Regions from separate parts of the Homo sapiens genome. Here regions 2 and 3 are each linked to region 1. Evidence: promoter capture Hi-C in human tissues and cell types (Jung and others, 2019). All regions are on one chromosome and are shown on one strand. The core of a region is centred on a gene start or on the middle of the fragment in contact, and the rest is flanking DNA. Distances in the headings are between cores, read along the strand shown.

The links. Contacts are between HindIII fragments. The study calls those that stand out against the background at their distance.
Region 2: a fragment that was not itself captured here is called in contact with the fragment with the promoter of SIAH3 in region 1 in 1 of the 25 tissues and cell types used here (hippocampus).
Region 3: a fragment that was not itself captured here is called in contact with the fragment with the promoter of SIAH3 in region 1 in 2 of the 25 tissues and cell types used here (bladder and neural progenitor cells).

What each region holds. Positions count from the first base shown.
Region 1 is chr13:45,850,470-45,853,061 of GRCh38, forward strand. SIAH3 (siah E3 ubiquitin protein ligase family member 3) reads right to left here and starts at 1,284. Exons shown (of 2, transcript NM_198849.3): 1 at 1,026-1,284. The coding sequence starts at 1,160. RefSeq lists an enhancer at 1-393. The HindIII fragment of the contact is 6,525 bases long and covers 1-2,592 here.
Region 2 is chr13:45,804,128-45,806,719 of GRCh38, forward strand. All of the region lies in intron 1 of SIAH3 (siah E3 ubiquitin protein ligase family member 3), which reads right to left. Among named protein-coding and RNA genes, the nearest start is that of SIAH3, 46 kb to the right of the region's middle. The HindIII fragment of the contact is 4,222 bases long and covers 1-2,592 here.
Region 3 is chr13:45,884,759-45,887,350 of GRCh38, forward strand. No RefSeq gene overlaps it. Among named protein-coding and RNA genes, the nearest start is that of SIAH3, 34 kb to the left of the region's middle. The HindIII fragment of the contact is 4,275 bases long and covers 1-2,592 here.

The DNA of each region.
Region 1 (2,592 bases), core at 34-2,533:
CCTTACACAGGAGTACAGGAAAGGAACTTCCAATGAGTCCATCTTTTATGTTAGGAGAGAGGCAAGGTGCTGAGTTTCCCATCCGGGGAGTTCAGCTGCACCCTCTCCCCAGCCCCCACCTCCCTGACTTCCCCTCCTCCCTACTACCCCTAACCAGTGGCCCATCATTCCTTTCCCAGTCAGTCTTGGCTGTGATGTTAAGCGGCTCTGCCGGACCCCATATTTTGTCTGGTCTCTAAAAGGGCACTGACCTGAGGGTACAAATGCAGAGGCCCCGGGGCAGCTAGGCAGCCGCGAGCAACCCAGCACCCAGCTGCCTAGGGTGCTCCAGGCAGCGGCGGCAGCAGCTAGAAGCTGGTGTCATTATTACACAAGCCAGGCAAATCCTGCTCCAGTACACAGAGCGCATCTAACCAGCAGGAAGGAAATAAGCCAAAATCCTCCCGACACCACACACACACACACACACACACACACACACACACACACACACACGAGTCTGAGGACAAGGACAAACACTTTGCAGAAAGAACCCTCCCCCCACCCCACCGACGTCCAAGTCCCTGTTTCAGGATTCCTCACCCCCCAGTAGCTTCTAAAATCCTCGTGTTTGACCACCTCTCCCAACACATGGGACAGAGAGAATTTGGCTAACTTCAAATCCTGTCTCCTGAGCACTTGCCCACAAATAGTAGGGGGAGTGATGGGGACGCCCCCCTGTTCCCTCCACCACCCTCACTTCTGCCCCCCACGCCACTCTCAGGTTGACAGCGTCGGGGAAAGACATCAGACCATCAATCCAGCTTTTCCTGCCAGCTGGGGAAACAACACTCGGTCACTAACAGCACCCAATCACCTAGAGAGCGAGAGTGAGCCGAGGCAAACACGCCGGGTTCCAGACACCGTCCCAGCCCCCGAGACCCGGGTTTGCAAAGGGCTGCACACGTTCGCCGGAGGGTCGCTGCCGCCTCCGAGAAAGGACTTGAACCTGAGCCCGGTGAAGGTAAAATGACACAGAGACTCACCTTTAGGTTGTGTGTGGGGTTGACGACACAGACAAGTTGCCCGGCAGCGGAGAAAACCCGTTTAGCCTTGTAGTGCTGAAACCGGAGATGAATGAGATCTAATACAGCCCCAAAGCACTGGGTAAAGAAAAGCATCACAACTTTTGGGGGGTTGTTGGTCCGGGAAGGCAGCGGAGGAAGCTGTGAGTCCTTGGGCCCTGGAAGGAGCGCAGCCTCTGAGACACTCCGCTCCAGCCCGGCTTAGCGCGCCTTCATATTCATCATCAAAATAAGACGGTTAGAATCTTGCAGCAGTGAGGCGGCCAATCAAAAGGACAGAAATGTTATCCTTGAGGTGCAGAGACAGCCAATAACAAATGCCTTCCCTACCGAAACTCCCTGATGAATTGAGCCTGGCGGAGAATGTATTATTGAACATTACCATAGATCAGCACATTGCATTTATCTTGTGATTACAGCCAACCATACCTAATGCTGGGGAGATAGGCTGACAAAATTGATTGCTTAATGTGTCTCCATTTATTAATTGACTTAATTTAACATGAGAGCCTTTCTTAATGCCCTGGCAAGAACGTAAAGCGTTTAAGCCGCCAAATAGTACAACACCCCGCTCCAAAGTAGGCAGATGGATAACGCAGATCATGGCTCGACTCACCAGAGCTGCTTGGGAGAAAATAAAATATTACTAGACTCTGAATCCAGATAAGGACTTGGCAGCAGCAAAAATGTGTATCTTTCAATCTTGCGTTCTGACTTTCTGCAATTTGGATTACAGCCCCTTGATAAATCTTACTCTCCACTCTTTATCAAAGAAAAGAATCCCTGACAAATTCATTTGGAGTTGAGGGGTGGAGGGAAGCACATACATATATATTACTATACATATATATATATTTTCTTTTTTTCAAAATACTGTGATTACTGAAGTCTGAAAGTATTAAAGGATAAAAATGCACAGAGTATGCTTCAAAAAATAATGAAATCCCTGATGCATGAATGCACACACACAGAAAAACCTACACTGAGAGGAAAGAGGCTTGTAAATCAGCAAAATAATTACAGATGCAGAGAACCTTTGCTTGTCATTCATTTGCATATTGGTGGGCAGCAAATTGCTAATTAACCACTAGATTGCTGGAGACATTAAAATAGAGATTAAGGATGCACATACCACATCATTTACTTGTTTCTGCAAATGCTAGCAGCACATTTCTGTGCTGGCACAGGCAGAGGGCATTCCAGTCCTCAGACTGCAAACCTGTCCTTGCTCCCCAGAACAGGGCTGGTGGGTGGGCGGGAGGCCGCTGGTTCTTGAAGAAAGATTCCTAAGCAGTACTTGAAGGGTTTTGGGTTTTTCGGGACTAGCTCTGATGGTTTAGTCTTTGCAGCTAAAGCAGGGGAGTTCAGTGTATTGTGTTTTCCCTCTTCCCTGGTTGTTTCTCTCTTGAGAAGTCAGGCCAGATCCAGTGCTGCCTGGAGCAGGATCAGCCCCCACTGTGAATTGTACCCTGTGAGTGTGAGCCCCCTCCCTCATGGCTCTTGTTCTGCTCTGGCTACAATGCTTGGG
Region 2 (2,592 bases), core at 62-2,561, 46 kb before region 1:
TTAATGTCAAAAATGCAAGCTTGGGGAGGGCATACATATTATATTTTTAAAAATAAAAGCTATATATTATTTAGGCAAGTTTGTTATTACTATTAATTCTATTAATGTGTTTAATATTAATATATTGTTATTACTACATGCTACAACATAGATAAACCTTGAAAACATTATGTTAAGTCAAAGAAGCCAGTGGCGAAAGATCACATATTATATAATTCTATTTACATGAACTGTCCAGAATAGGCAAATGCACAGATACAGAAAAAAGATGGGTTGCCAAGGGTTGGAGGGAGGGTAGAGTGGAGTGGTTGCTAACAAATATGGGATTTCTTTTGGGGTGTTGAAAACATTCTAAAATTAGATAGCGGTAATGGTTGTGCAACTCCGTGAATATACTAAAATCAATTGAATTATACACTTTAAAAGGTATGTGATAACTCAAAATATTAAAAGCCATCTATGACAAACCCACAGCCAACATTATACTAAAGGGGCAAAAGCTGGAAGCATTCTCCTTAAGAACTGAAACACGACAAGGATGGCCACTCTCACTATTCCTATTCAACGTAGTATTGGAAGTCCAAGCCAGAGCAATCAGGCAAGAGAAGGAAATAAAAGGTATCCAAACAGGAAAATAAGTAGTCCAAGTATCTCCCTTCATTGATGACATGATTCTATACCTAGAAAACCCTAAAGGCTCCACCAAAAGGATCCTAGAGATGATAAACGACTTCAGTAAAATTTTAGGATACAAAATCAATGTACAAAAATTGGTAGCATTTTATACACCAATAATGTTCAAGCTGAGTCAAATCAAGAACTCAATCCCATTTATAACACACACACACACACACACACACACACACACACACACACACACACAAAATACTTTGGAATACATCTAACCAAGTAAGTGAAAGATCTCTACAAGGAGAACTACAAAACACTGCTGAAAGAAATCATAGATGATACAAGCAAATGAAAAAGCTTCCTATGCCCAATATTGTCAAAATGGCCATACTGCCCAAAGCCATCTACAGATTCAATGCTATTCCTATCAAACTATCAACATTACCGTTCACAGAATTAGAAAAAAACTATTCTAAAATTTATATGGAACCAAAAAAGAGTGCGAATAGCCAAAGCAATATGAAGCAAAAAGAAGAAAGTTGGAGGCATCACACTACCTGACTTCAAACTATACTACAAAGCTACAGTAACCAAAACAGCACGATACTGGTATAAAAACAGACCATAGACCAATGGAACAGGATAGAGAACCCAAAAATAAAGCTGCACAATTACAATAATCTGATCTTTGATAAAGTTGACAATAACAAGCAATGGGAAAAGGACTCCCTATTCAATAAATTGTGCTGGGATAATTAGCCAGCTATATGCAGAAGAATGAAAATGGACCTCTACCTTTCGCCATATATAAAAATTAACTCAAGATGGATTAAAAACTGAAATGTAAGACCTCAAACTATAAAAATCTTAGAAGAAAACTAGGATATACCATTCTGGACAGTGGCCTTGGCAAAGAATTTATAACTAAGTCCCTAAAAGCAATTGCAACAAAGACAGAAATTGACAAGTAGGACCTAATTAAACTAAAGAGCTTCTGCACAGCAAAAGAAACTATTAACAGGCTAAACAGACAATTTATAGAATGGTAGAAAATATTTGCAAACTATGCATCTGACAACAGTCTAATGTCCAGAATCTATAAGAAACCTAATTCAACAAGCAAAACCAAATAACCCCATTAAAAATGGGCAAAGGACATGACAGACACTTCTCAAAAGAAGACATACATGTGACATACAAATATATGAAATAATCCTCAACATCATTAATCATCAGAGAAATGCAAATCAAAACCACAATGAGATGCCATTTTGTCCCCATCAGAATGGCTATTAAAAAGACAAAAAATAACATGTTGATGAGGTTGTGAAGAAAAGGGAACATTTATATACTGTTGGTGGAAATGTAAATTAGTTCAGCCACTGTGGAAAGCAGTTTGGAGATTTCTCAAATAATTTAAAACAGAACTACCATTTGACCCAGCAATTCCATTATGGAGTATATATGCAAAGGAAAAGACATTGTTCTACCAAAAAGATAAACACACTCATATTTTCATCACAGCACTCCTCACAATAGCAAAGACATGGAATCAACCCAGGTCCCCATCAATGGTGGACTGGATAAAGAAAATGTGGTACATATACACCATGGAATACTACACAGCCATAAAAGTGAATCGAATTATATCCTTTGCAGCAACATGGATGGAGCTAGAGGCCATGATATTAAGCGAAGTAATGCAGGAACAGAAAACCAAATACCACATGTTCTCACTTACAACAGGGAGCTAAACATTGAGTACACACGCATATAAAGATGGCACCAATAGACATTGGGGACTATGAGAGTGGGGAGGGTGGAAGGAAGACAATGGTTGAAAAAGTATCTATTGCGTGCTATGCTCACTACCTGGATGACAGGATTATTCATATACCAAGCCTTAGTGACACGTCATTTACCCATGTAACAAACCTGCACATTTACCCCCTAAACTTAAAA
Region 3 (2,592 bases), core at 64-2,563, 34 kb after region 1:
AAGTAAGATATTTTACTCCAAAATCATTTTCTTTGAATATTGCCCAGCTATAGAGCATCACAAATAATTTAAAATTAATAATTGCGTTATCTGCAGTTTAAAATAACCTTGTCCCTATGTCATATCTTTCCATCTTCACTGAGTTTGATTTTCAGTCCTATGCCTTCCTCTCCTCAGTCCATGCCCATCCAGGTAAATTTCTATTCTGTCTTCAAGACCAAATTGTATCTCACCATTGACCATGAGCTCCACCCAGTCATCCATACTACAGATCCTTGTACATAGTAATTACTCTATAAGTGTTTGATGAATGAGTGAATAAGTGAATCAATGTAGGATCACTGATTGTTTCAAGCTCTCCATCCCACACAACTTTAGAGCAGGACTCTAACAACATTACTGTGCAATTCATTATACTTCAAAATGTGTCATAAACTAGGATATACTTTATATTCACATGAATACCTTGAAAATACTTACTAACAATTTGTTCAGGTGTCACTGAAAAGGCCATTACATGACTGATTTTTCTTCCTACAATGCGATTTGCTTTGATTTGCCACCGCGTGGCTCTTTCCTCAGGGTCTGTCAGTATTCCGTTCACAGCTTCTTCTCTTTGACTCCAGGTCTGCTTGCTGCCTTTCCTCCAAAGAGGAAAGCCTGTCACCTGTCATCTCTCAGTAGGCTGGAATCTTGGTGATTCTAGAGCCCAGCATGCAGCAGCCCTGCTCTGCGTGCTGCAATTCTAATGCTCCCTTATGCAGAAGTGGGGATGATGTGAAGCTCTTTTCCAATATCATAATTCTTGTTTGGATTCTAATCCACACAAGATTAACCTTTTCTGGATTTCTGCAGGAGCTGAGGAACATCTAAAACACAAGCCATTTGTCTTTAAATTATCCAATTTTATGATCATAAATTCACCTATGATTCTATGAAATGCAATGCTACTACCAGAACCAATTCTAGAAGAAACATCATTCTTGGTTTCTCCTTCATTATTATTGCCTATATTATCAACACTGTCAACACCAATAACATTTGTCAAGCACCAAAACAGTGTGAGCTGTTTTCCTTGGGGCTAGAGGAGAAGAGGCAACATCACCTTTTAAACTTGGAGCTTAAAATCTATTGCACTGGCATTTTTTACAGGCATTTTTTGAGCATCCACCCAACTATTTAATAAATAGTGATTGCAGGCCTACTGCCGTAAGACTGCAATGGTGAACAAGACCCAGCTCCCCATGAATGTCCATAATGACAGTATTCATCATAGCCAAAAGCTGGAAACAATCCAAGTGGCCATCAGCAAATGAATCATTAAACAAAATGTGGTGTGTGCGCGTGCACACACACACACAAACACACACACACACACACCAGAATATTACTCAGCTATAAAAAAGGATGATGTCCTGATACACATTACAACGTGAATGAAGCTTGAAAACATATGCTAAATGAAGGAAGTCAATCACAAAAGATCACTATCTTAGTCTGTTTTGTGTTGCTATAACATAATACCTGAGACTGGGTAATTCATAAAGAAAAGAGGTTTAGACTGGGCACCTGTAATCCCAGCACTCTGGGTGGATCACTTGAGGCCAAGAGTTCAAGACCAACCTAGCCCACATGGCAAAACCCCATTGCTACTAACAAATACAAAAATTAGCCAGGCGTGGTGGCATGCACCTGTAATCTCAGCTACTCGGGAGGCTGAGGCAGGAGAATCACTTGAACCCAGGAGGAGGAGGTTGCCGTGAGCTGAGATCACGCCACTGTACTCCAGCCTGGGTGATGGAGTGAGACTCTCTCAAAAAAAAAAAAAAAAAAAAGAGAGAGAAAAAAGGTTTCATTTAGCTCATGGTTCTGCAAACTGGGAAGTTCCAGGCATGGTGCTGGCATCTGCTGAGGGCTTCTGTGCTGTCATAACGTGGTGGAGAAGGTTAAAGGGAAGCAGACACATGCAAAGAGGCACAAAATGGGAGGAGGAATCTCACTTTATAACAATCCACTCTTGCAGGACGAATTCATTCCCAGAGAATAAAACCAGTCTCTTGAGAATGAGAACTAAGTACTGCGCGAGAATGGCACCAAGCCATTCCTGAGGGATCCACCCCCATGACCCAAACACCTCCCACTAGGCCCTACTTCCCAACACTGTCACATTGGGGATCAAATTTCAACATAAGTTTTGGTGGAAACAAACCATATCCAAACCAAAGCAGTCACATATTAAAGATTCCCCTTATATCCAAAATAGGTAAATCTGTAGAGACAGAACACAGGGGCTGGGAGGAGGGCAGTATAGATAATGACTGCTTAATAGGTATGGAATTTCTTCTTGGCGCAATGAAAATGTTTTGGAGCTGGCTAGAGGTGGTGGTTGCACAGCAGTGTGAAGGTACTAAGTGCCACTGAATTGTGCAATTTAAAACGGTTAATTTTATGTTGTGTGAATTTCACCAAAATAAACATAAATTTTTTAAGATCTAATTTTTATTCCTCATAGTGCATTATTTTCAGTTTAATGTCTAGAGTTGTATGGGCATTCAAAGAATCTATAATGTAATGGAGGAGACAGACAACAAT